Regions from separate parts of the Homo sapiens genome. Here regions 2 and 3 are each linked to region 1. The links are contacts of gene promoters, found by promoter capture Hi-C in blood cells and fetal thymus (Javierre and others, 2016). All regions are on one chromosome and are shown on one strand. Each heading gives the region's core, a stretch centred on a gene start or on the middle of the fragment in contact. The rest is flanking DNA. Distances are from core to core; before and after follow the strand shown.

Evidence for each region. Contacts are between HindIII fragments. The CHiCAGO score rates a contact against its expected background, and 5 or more counts as called.
Region 2: a fragment that was not itself captured here is called in contact with the fragment with the promoter of PRR18 in region 1 in 1 of 17 cell types (total CD8 T cells); the score reaches 5.1 in total CD8 T cells.
Region 3: a contact is called between a fragment that was not itself captured here and the fragment with the promoter of PRR18 in region 1, in 1 of 17 cell types (non-activated CD4 T cells). The highest score is 5.3, in non-activated CD4 T cells.

What each region holds. Positions count from the first base shown.
Region 1 is chr6:166,307,123-166,309,822 of GRCh38, reverse strand. PRR18 (proline rich 18) reads left to right here and starts at 1,431. Exons shown (of 1, transcript NM_175922.4): 1 at 1,431-2,700. The coding sequence starts at 1,681. The coding sequence ends at 2,568. LOC107986669 (a long non-coding RNA gene) reads right to left here and starts at 2,275. Exons shown (of 3, transcript XR_001744464.2): 1 at 2,100-2,275; 2 at 6-101. RefSeq lists an enhancer at 999-1,278 and a silencer at 1,349-1,948. The HindIII fragment of the contact is 8,012 bases long and covers 1-2,700 here.
Region 2 is chr6:166,619,242-166,621,941 of GRCh38, reverse strand. The region is part of intron 1 of RPS6KA2 (ribosomal protein S6 kinase A2); the gene reads left to right. Among named protein-coding and RNA genes, the nearest start is that of RPS6KA2, 6.7 kb to the left of the region's middle. RefSeq lists enhancers at 495-995, 2,656-2,700. The HindIII fragment of the contact is 3,633 bases long and covers 1-2,700 here.
Region 3 is chr6:166,643,621-166,646,320 of GRCh38, reverse strand. It overlaps LOC107986671 (a long non-coding RNA gene), which reads right to left. Exons shown (of 3, transcript XR_001744466.2): 2 at 30-119. It also overlaps a transcript of RPS6KA2 not described here. Among named protein-coding and RNA genes, the nearest start is that of RPS6KA2, 18 kb to the right of the region's middle. The HindIII fragment of the contact is 2,883 bases long and covers 1-2,700 here.

The sequences.
Region 1 (2,700 bases), core at 182-2,681:
CTCACCTTCTCTTCCAGTTCTCCACTTTCCAGGCACAGAACTGTGGGCCTCCTGCCGCCACTGACGTGCCTCTTCCCACACCCATCCAGAGATTCTAAAACCTGGAATAAAACATATTGAGGAGGAGGTTTCAGTATCTTAGGACCTCACCTGTCAAGCCGATTAACAGCCTGAGCCCACCGGCAGAGACAGGCTGGCAGGGATGGAGGGAAAGTGCCTGTGAGCTGGGAGGCTTGTTTCAGAGCTGTATTGGGGTGGCTTGGGAGGTGCTGGTAGAGATGACAGGGCCCAAACCTGTCACCCCAACCCAAGCTCTGGTGAGAAGTGTTTCCCACCACCTGCCAGGTTTCCTTGACGCTCCCATGTATCCACAGCGCAGTTCTCTGAGGCCACCAACAGTCAACAAGGGGAGGCGTTGCTGCTGCCTCGGAGACTGAGGCGGCTGGGGGAGGGCCATGCTGTCCTGCTGTGACTGTTGGCACAGGGCACATTTGTGTTTACCCACAGTTGAATGTGCTCTGGAGCTAACCTGGGGCCGTAACCATCACACACCTGGTTTCCATCAGAAAAGTGTATCTGATGGAAAGTACTTTGTGGAGATCTAAGCAGCTGATGATTATCCTTAAGTAATGCAGGGACTGCACACATGAAATGTTGACTTTTTGATCCGTCACTTTGCAATTGTTCAATTATTTATTAAACAAACATTTGAATATTGTAGGATGTCTTCATGTGTCTACGACTAGAATGTAAATTGACAGTGAAGATTTATCTCATTAATTCTGAATCTCTGCTACAGTGATAAATATATTGCTTTGCTCATAAGAATTATTAAAGGGACTTGATGTCTAATATTTGCCATGTAATCAGCATTATATAGCTGAAACTGAACTATTTTGCCTGTTCATAGATACTTAGGTTTTGAATTTGAAAGTGACTCCTCAAGGGGTGGCATGAACACTATGTAAGATTCACTGAGGGTCATTTCTCCCCTCTCAGCTCCAGCCCGCTTTTCTCTGTGAAGCAGGATGTGTCCGGGGCCGCAGAGCTGCATCTACTGGCGGTGCCTTTCCCGCCGTCTCGAAGGCACGGAGAGGCTACAGGGGATTTTCTCTGAAACGTGCAGGGCCTCCACCTGTGACTCCGGAAGGCTGCCGGCTCCCCCAGGGGAATGCTCCTGGCTTTCGACGGACTACATTAACCTCGGACCACCGGAGCGCCAGCTGGGGGAGCCCCGGGATGCCTGGCGCGCGCTCCGCCCTCCGCTGTCCTGGCACTTTGCTCCCATTCAACAGTCGGTCGTGACACCAGCCGGGCACAGCCCGGGGCCTGGCAGGGCCGCGTCCTTAGCGAGCGCGCTGGGCTCCTCCTCCTGCCGGCCCGGCCCGCGTCTCAGCTGTGGGGACCCGGGGGCGCCGCGACTCGCCCACAGTCGGACGGCGGGAGGCGGTTCCTGCAGGGTCCAGTCCCGGGAGCACCCCCAGGAGGAGGGGAGGGTGGGAGCGCCTCTCTTTGAGTCCCCGGGTTTGGTCGCTGGGATGTGAGGAAGCCGGAGAGGCCGCGGCTGGACGCAGGTGGGTGTGGAGGGGCCGCCCGGACTGCGGGGACCCGCTCCGCGCACAGTGGCTGAGCGCCCGCCTCTCTTTCCAGGGGCTGAGGATCCGGCGGCTCGGCTGCACTATGCCCTTCCCGCCCATGCCGCCGCCGCCCGCCCCCGCCCCGGGGGCCCAAGCCGCGCGCCAGTTACCCCGGAGGCCCTGCGCCGCGGGGGACAAGAAGAAGAGGCCCCCACAGCGGCCCGAGGGGCTCCTCTCCAGCTCCTGGCCCTCCGCCACGCTCAAGAGGCCGCCGGCCCGGCGCGGCCCCGGCCTGGACAGGACGCAGCCGCCGGCCCCTCCGGGCGTCTCCCCCCAGGCCTTGCCCAGCCGCGCGCGGGCCCCAGCCACGTGCGCCCCGCCCCGGCCGGCAGGCTCCGGCCACAGCCCAGCGAGGACCACCTATGCGGCGACCTCGGCGGGGACGGGGACCACCGCCGCGGGCACCTCCTCGGGGGCGGGGCCTTGTCCAGACTCCGCTGCGCGCTTCTGCCTGAATCTCACCCCCGAGGCCGTCCTGGTCATCCAGAAGCGTCATCTGGAGAAGCAGCTGCTGGCGCGGCCCCGCAGGCCCTTCCCCTCACCCTCGGCCGAACCCAGGCGCCTACTCGCCCCGTGTCTCCCGGCTAGGGCCGCGGGCCCGCGGAGGGGCGGCCCCGCCAGCGACCCCGACGCACCCCCCACCGCCGGCCAGGGCCGCCGCGCGCCTCCGCCCGGCGCCCAGCTGCTGCACGGCGGCCTGCAGGTTCCCCAGCTCAGCCCGCGGCCCGGGGCCCTGCGGCCGATGCTCAAGGTGTCGCTGCTCAACGAGCGGCACAGGTACGACGACGTGGAGTACGAGGAGGAGCCAGAGGCGGTGGACGAGGGCCTGGTACGCAAGTGCACGGAGTGGCTGCGCGGCGTGGAGTCCGCGGCTGCCGCGCGGGGCCGGGCGGGGGCCCTGGACTCACGGCGGCACCTGAGCACGCTGTGAGCCCAGCGGGCCTGCGGGGACAGGCCAGGCCTGATCCCACCTCACTTCCTGCACGCGCCACTCCGCCTAGGGGCCCTCGGGGGAGACCGCAGGCTCCTCTGGCCGCCAGCGCCCACTTTCGGGACACCAGTG
Region 2 (2,700 bases), core at 179-2,678, 310 kb before region 1:
AATAGTGGGTGGGAGAAGTATGAACTCTCTGAGGCAGCTTCCAGGGCTGCTGGCTGTGAAGGGGAAGGGGAGGAAAGAGGCTTTAGGGCTGTAGCTTCAGGATGAAGGCAACGTTCGGGTCAACCAGAGATGTGTGCGGCCTTGGGGACCTTCAGGGAGCTGCCAGGAGAGTGCTCCTTTGATATGGGGGACCAGGATGAGTTTACTTTGTATGACGTGGAGTTGGTAACCAGTAACTTAGCCAGAAATACTCTACCTTTTTTGCTCCAAGGATCTGTGCTTATTAAATAAGCAGAGCTGGTCTAAGACTAGCAGCATTCTCTAGAATGCTCTGCTTTTATTTCTGATTACACTGAATTAGGTTGTGTTGCATTTTCTCAGCGTTTTATGTTTGCTGATATATTTTCACTAGTAAAAGCTATTACATTGAATTCAAATAAGTAAAAATTATCAACAAATAGGCTGTTAAGCTACAGTGTGATTTAATCAAGCAAATGGATCAGACACAAATATATTCCATATGAAATACTGTTAATCACATCTGACTTGCAGCTGCGTGAGAAGCCTTGCCTGCTAACTGCTTAGCTAGGGGAAAATAATGGTGCAGCTACAAGGAAGCCGGAGGCACCTGCATATCAGGGCGTGGAGGACAAATGTGCGTAACCATACACCTAGGATTTATTACCAAGCAGGCCAGAAGCAGTGTTTCCGACCAGCCAAGATGTGTACCTGTTGTTATGCAGTCATTTGCATATGTTATGCAGTCATTTGCATGCGTTCCTGGAGATCAGTCAGAGGGTGTTCCCAAGAATGCTACTGATATGAGAGCCCTACCTGATTCCATTCGGCGAATGCTCCCTAGCCAGTCTTCCTCTATGAGCCTTGGTGTGCAAAGCTCCCCAGGCTGGGTGGTTTGCCCTTGCCTTGCCCCGTGGAGGTAGGATTCTGCAGGCATGGAGCAGGTGGTGTCCCTGTTTCCCTCCTGCCCCTGCTCGGTGCCAGTCTCCTGCCGTGGGAAGTGCCTGACCTTGCCGGCTGCCCCTTCTCCCAGCCACCTCACACTGCCCTAGTGTTCTTGCTGTCTCCCTTGCCAAACCACTGAATCCTTCTGAGCACCTGTCTCCCCAGCTACAAAATAGGGGTAACCCTGTAATAAGGGTTATCTGCAATTTATTAAATGCTTCATCAGTGAAATGTGCCTTGTCAGGACAGCTTGCACTTGGCATCCGTGGTGTTGCACAAAGCTGACTTTGGTGAGACCATATCTGTAAAGGTTCTTGCACTACATTATGGGGGAAAAATGTTTTTTCTCTCCTGCCAGCCTCTTTCCTTGCCCCTTTGAATACACATCTGTTTCTAATTAGTATTATCACCATGAAACTAGCTTTTCCTAGGTTATAGCTATGTTAAGTTTATATACAATGATGGTTTAATCTTTGATGCTGTCATTTTAAACATAATTCGTGGTAATAGCCCCTCTTGGAAAACAGACTTGTTTTCCACGCTGTTTCTGGCATCAGCCCACAAGGAATGGCTGAGTGGGGACTGTTGGGAGAAAGGAGAAGGCACTGGTAGAAATTATCTAGCCTTTTAGAGAAAAGAATTGTTTCTTCTTTCAGTTATTCTGTCTTCTGTATGAAATTAGCAAGATTTTTAAAAAATGAATCAAAGATTAGTACTTAGGTATTGGCCAGTGTATTTCCTCCTGTTGCCAAAGAAAAGAAAGGCTTGAATGAGATTGACAAATAAGAAAAACAGGCCTCATACCTGTGGAATGATTCGTATGCTGTAGTTTCACAATCTGAATTTTCAGATGGACATTAGCCAGAATGCAAGCCTGGGGCCTGCTGTGGAGAGCAGTCTCTGCACTCGAAGTGCACGGTAACATTCTTTGCACCAAGACATCTTGGCCACACATCCTGCCAAGGGCCTGTGGGCTTGCAGCTTTTACTCATTAAACTGTGAGGCCAAATTTATAACAGGAGGAGTGGGGGGATTTTACTTTGAATGACTTTGTTTTGGAATGGTTATGGTAGAAATGCCCTAGCGACTACTTAAGAAGCTCGCACAGGTCCCAATTTTAATGCTCTCAGCCCAGGATAATTGCAACTAGTTCTCTAGAACTAAGGTCAGATATCATATTAGCTTCCAAATAGTTTTACATCCATAATATCATGTGGACAATCTTTCTGAGGGTGAAAAACCAAGGAAGCCTCTTGTTCTGAACTGTGGGTAAAACACAAGAGGAGCAGAGAAGATGGCTTTGAGAGGACTCTGTGTGAGAAAAGCTGGGAGCCGGGCAAGGCTGGGAGGAGGCAGGAAGCCCAGGGGGCTCTGCAGGCCCTCCACGAGCCTTAAGACTTCAGGCCACATGGCCGTCAGCTCCTGCAGGCACCTGGGGCCCTGGGCTCTCTGTCACAGGGTCAAGCCCTGGAGAGACTGCTGCGTTCTACACTATGCTTGCAAAGGTGCTACGAGAAGCCCTCTTGCCTGTAACTTGTTAAAGCAACTCTGTTGATTGGTTGACTTTGAACATAGCGAAGGAAAGAAACACAGACAAACAAAACAACTTTCAAAAGAGCATTTATTTTTAGAACACCTTTGACTTCTTGAATTCTTCTTGGTTTCTCATCACTTCAGGGACTGAACAGACGGGCTGCGGGAATCAAAGTGGTGACTATAGCTGACTGCCTTCATTCC
Region 3 (2,700 bases), core at 108-2,607, 340 kb before region 1:
GGGTCCCTGCTACCTGGGTCTAGACTTACCTCTCCCAGCCGCCGCTTCTGTTCTGCAGCCAGGGTGTCAGAAGCTGGTCCATGTGGAACCGATCAAGAGATTCCACGTGATCTGAGAGACTGAAATAGATGCCCTCTGATCAACTGAGATGGGCACTAAGTTTAAGGAAACCAAGCCACCCCTGGGTCATGGGTTCAGTGCTCAGGGACCATGGCAAATTTCCCAATTCCTACAGCTAAATTCCCTAACAATAGGAGCTATCAACTCTGATTTACAACCTCACCACTACAACTCTAATTGCACAGAGGACTGGCCCTAGAAGCAAACGTTTTGTTCTAACGAGCACTTGCAGACTCCAGGCCCGCTTTGGCAGCTTTGAGGGGCACGCACAGATTGTCTTTGCATCCTTTAGTTCACCTTCTGACAAGTTTCTCCAGACTTGGCCAAATATCCATTGGGAGGCAAAATAATCTGTGGTTAAGTTGAAATGTTGACACATGTAAACCACACTTTGAGTTTGCAAAACTATGGCAAAGTTAATGCTACTGTTTAATTCATACCTTTACTTATTTAGAGCTAAAAATGAATTCTTATGTGCCAAGAACTCTGTGGGTACAACATGGACTATGATGAGCTGGGGCCAGGCTTCCTGGAGTGCCCCCATCTCCAGGTAGATCCAGAGAAGGGGGGGCACATTCCCGTGAGCATGGCAGGGCTGCTCCAGGAGGTCCTGTAACCCAGCCTAGGAACCAGGGCAGACCTCCCAGGAGTGGAGTCTTAGCCAAGGCCTAGGAGAGGGACAGAGGTGAGCAGGTTGAAGAGAGAGGAGGGGAGGTGGAGAGTTTGTGACTGGCAGAAGGAACAGGGTGTACCAGTGCTTAGGGGAAATATATAGAAAGCGGCTAAACGGAAACTCCAGCCCAAGTGTTCTGATCCCATTCTCAGTGTTCTTTTACTTAAACAGCTTCCCCCACACGACTGGTAATTCAAAAACTAACGTTGTGCCTCTGATTCCAGCTCCATAATTTATCTTATTGGCAGCCTGGTCACCCTTTGCCATTCTTCATATTGAAAGGTGAATACTTGTAGATGCTATTATGCATCTTGTTACATTTTCAAGTCTTTATCAAATAGGAAACTTTAATAGCTAGCTTTAAAGGATGCGTAAGTAGTTTCGTTCATTTTCTAGGTCTGCCATAAGACAGCATTACAAATTGGACAGTTTAAAATAATAGGAACTTGTCCTCCCACAGTTTTGGAGACCAGAACTCCAAAATCAGGGGTGGGCAGTGCCTCACTCCCTCTAAAGGCTGTAGGGAAGAATCTGATTCATGCCTCTTTCCAGCTTCTGGTGTTGCCAGCAATCCTTGGTGTTCCCTAGTTTGGAGATGCCCCGCTCCAATCTCTGTTTCCTCCTTCACCAGGCATTCCTCTGTGTGTATGTGTCTCTCCTTATAAGGACACCAGTCATATTGGATTTAGAGCCACCCTAATCCAATTATGACCTCATGTTAACTTGATTTCATTTGCAAAGACCCTATTTCCAAGTGAGGTCATGTTCACAGGTACTAGGGGTTAGGACTTCAAGGTGGCTTTTTGCAGGATGCAAGTAAGCCACAGCACTCATTATGTTAATGCTACATGGACACCACAAACCCCTAGGCTGTAATTTCTCTCTTTACTTTTTAATATGTATGGGCCCTTATTTAAAATACGTCTAAGCCAAAACACATTTGCAATATACTTTCACGCAACTTAAGTCAGATCCTTCCCTGAGAATACCGGGAGGTTTAGCTAAAGCAGTTGCTCCTGGAAAATGATGATAGGATTGGAGCCTCAAACTTCCTAAAAGTCACCAGAATCTCCAGCCAGTTGTTCCCGGAAGGACATGTAATCACAAGAATAACTGGAAGAAGTGACGTCATGGACTGGGGGAGCAGGCACAGTAAATGGGACGCACATTGATTTGAAGAAATGTGGGCTTTTCCCTGTGTTGAACTTCAGGATGTACCATTGTGAATATAACATCTGTGCCCTACTAGATAATTCCCTTTCTTTTCGTTTTTGAATAGTACATGTTGTATGCCCTTAGCAAATCTAAAAATAGTATGTAGAGTTACTGACTTATTGCCTCAGTTGCCCAAGGTTATGTGCTAATTACTGGCTTAAAAAGAGGAAAAGGGAAGGAGAGGAGAAGAGAGAGAGGGAACCAATTGTCACAAGTTAATCCTCATTCTGCACTTCCATCCTGTGGCACAAAGTGCATGTCAAAAAAGCAGTAGTGGCCATCTGGCTGCCAGTTCAGTGACTGCTTTCACTCGTCTATCCATTCAGCAAATATTTGTTCTAAGTAGATCAGCCATCAGTAACAGGCACTGTGTATAGTGATTTGCCAAGGAGACACAATTCCTGCCCTCACAGGGTTTACAGTCTAATAAAAGCATTAATTAAATGCTCACACACATACACCTAAGTAAGTATTCCCATCTAAGAAATTCCTAGTATCTTAAGAGCATCTGCCAGGGCACCTGACTAAGTCTGGGGGTCACAGAGAGCATCCTTGAAGGACTGACAGCGGAGGTCAGAACTTTAGGAGGATTCAGTATTAATCTTGGTAAACAAAATTGAAGGCAGGTACCACATCGTCCAGATGAGAGTAGCAAGATATACAATGGCCCAAGACATATATTGAGACAAAAA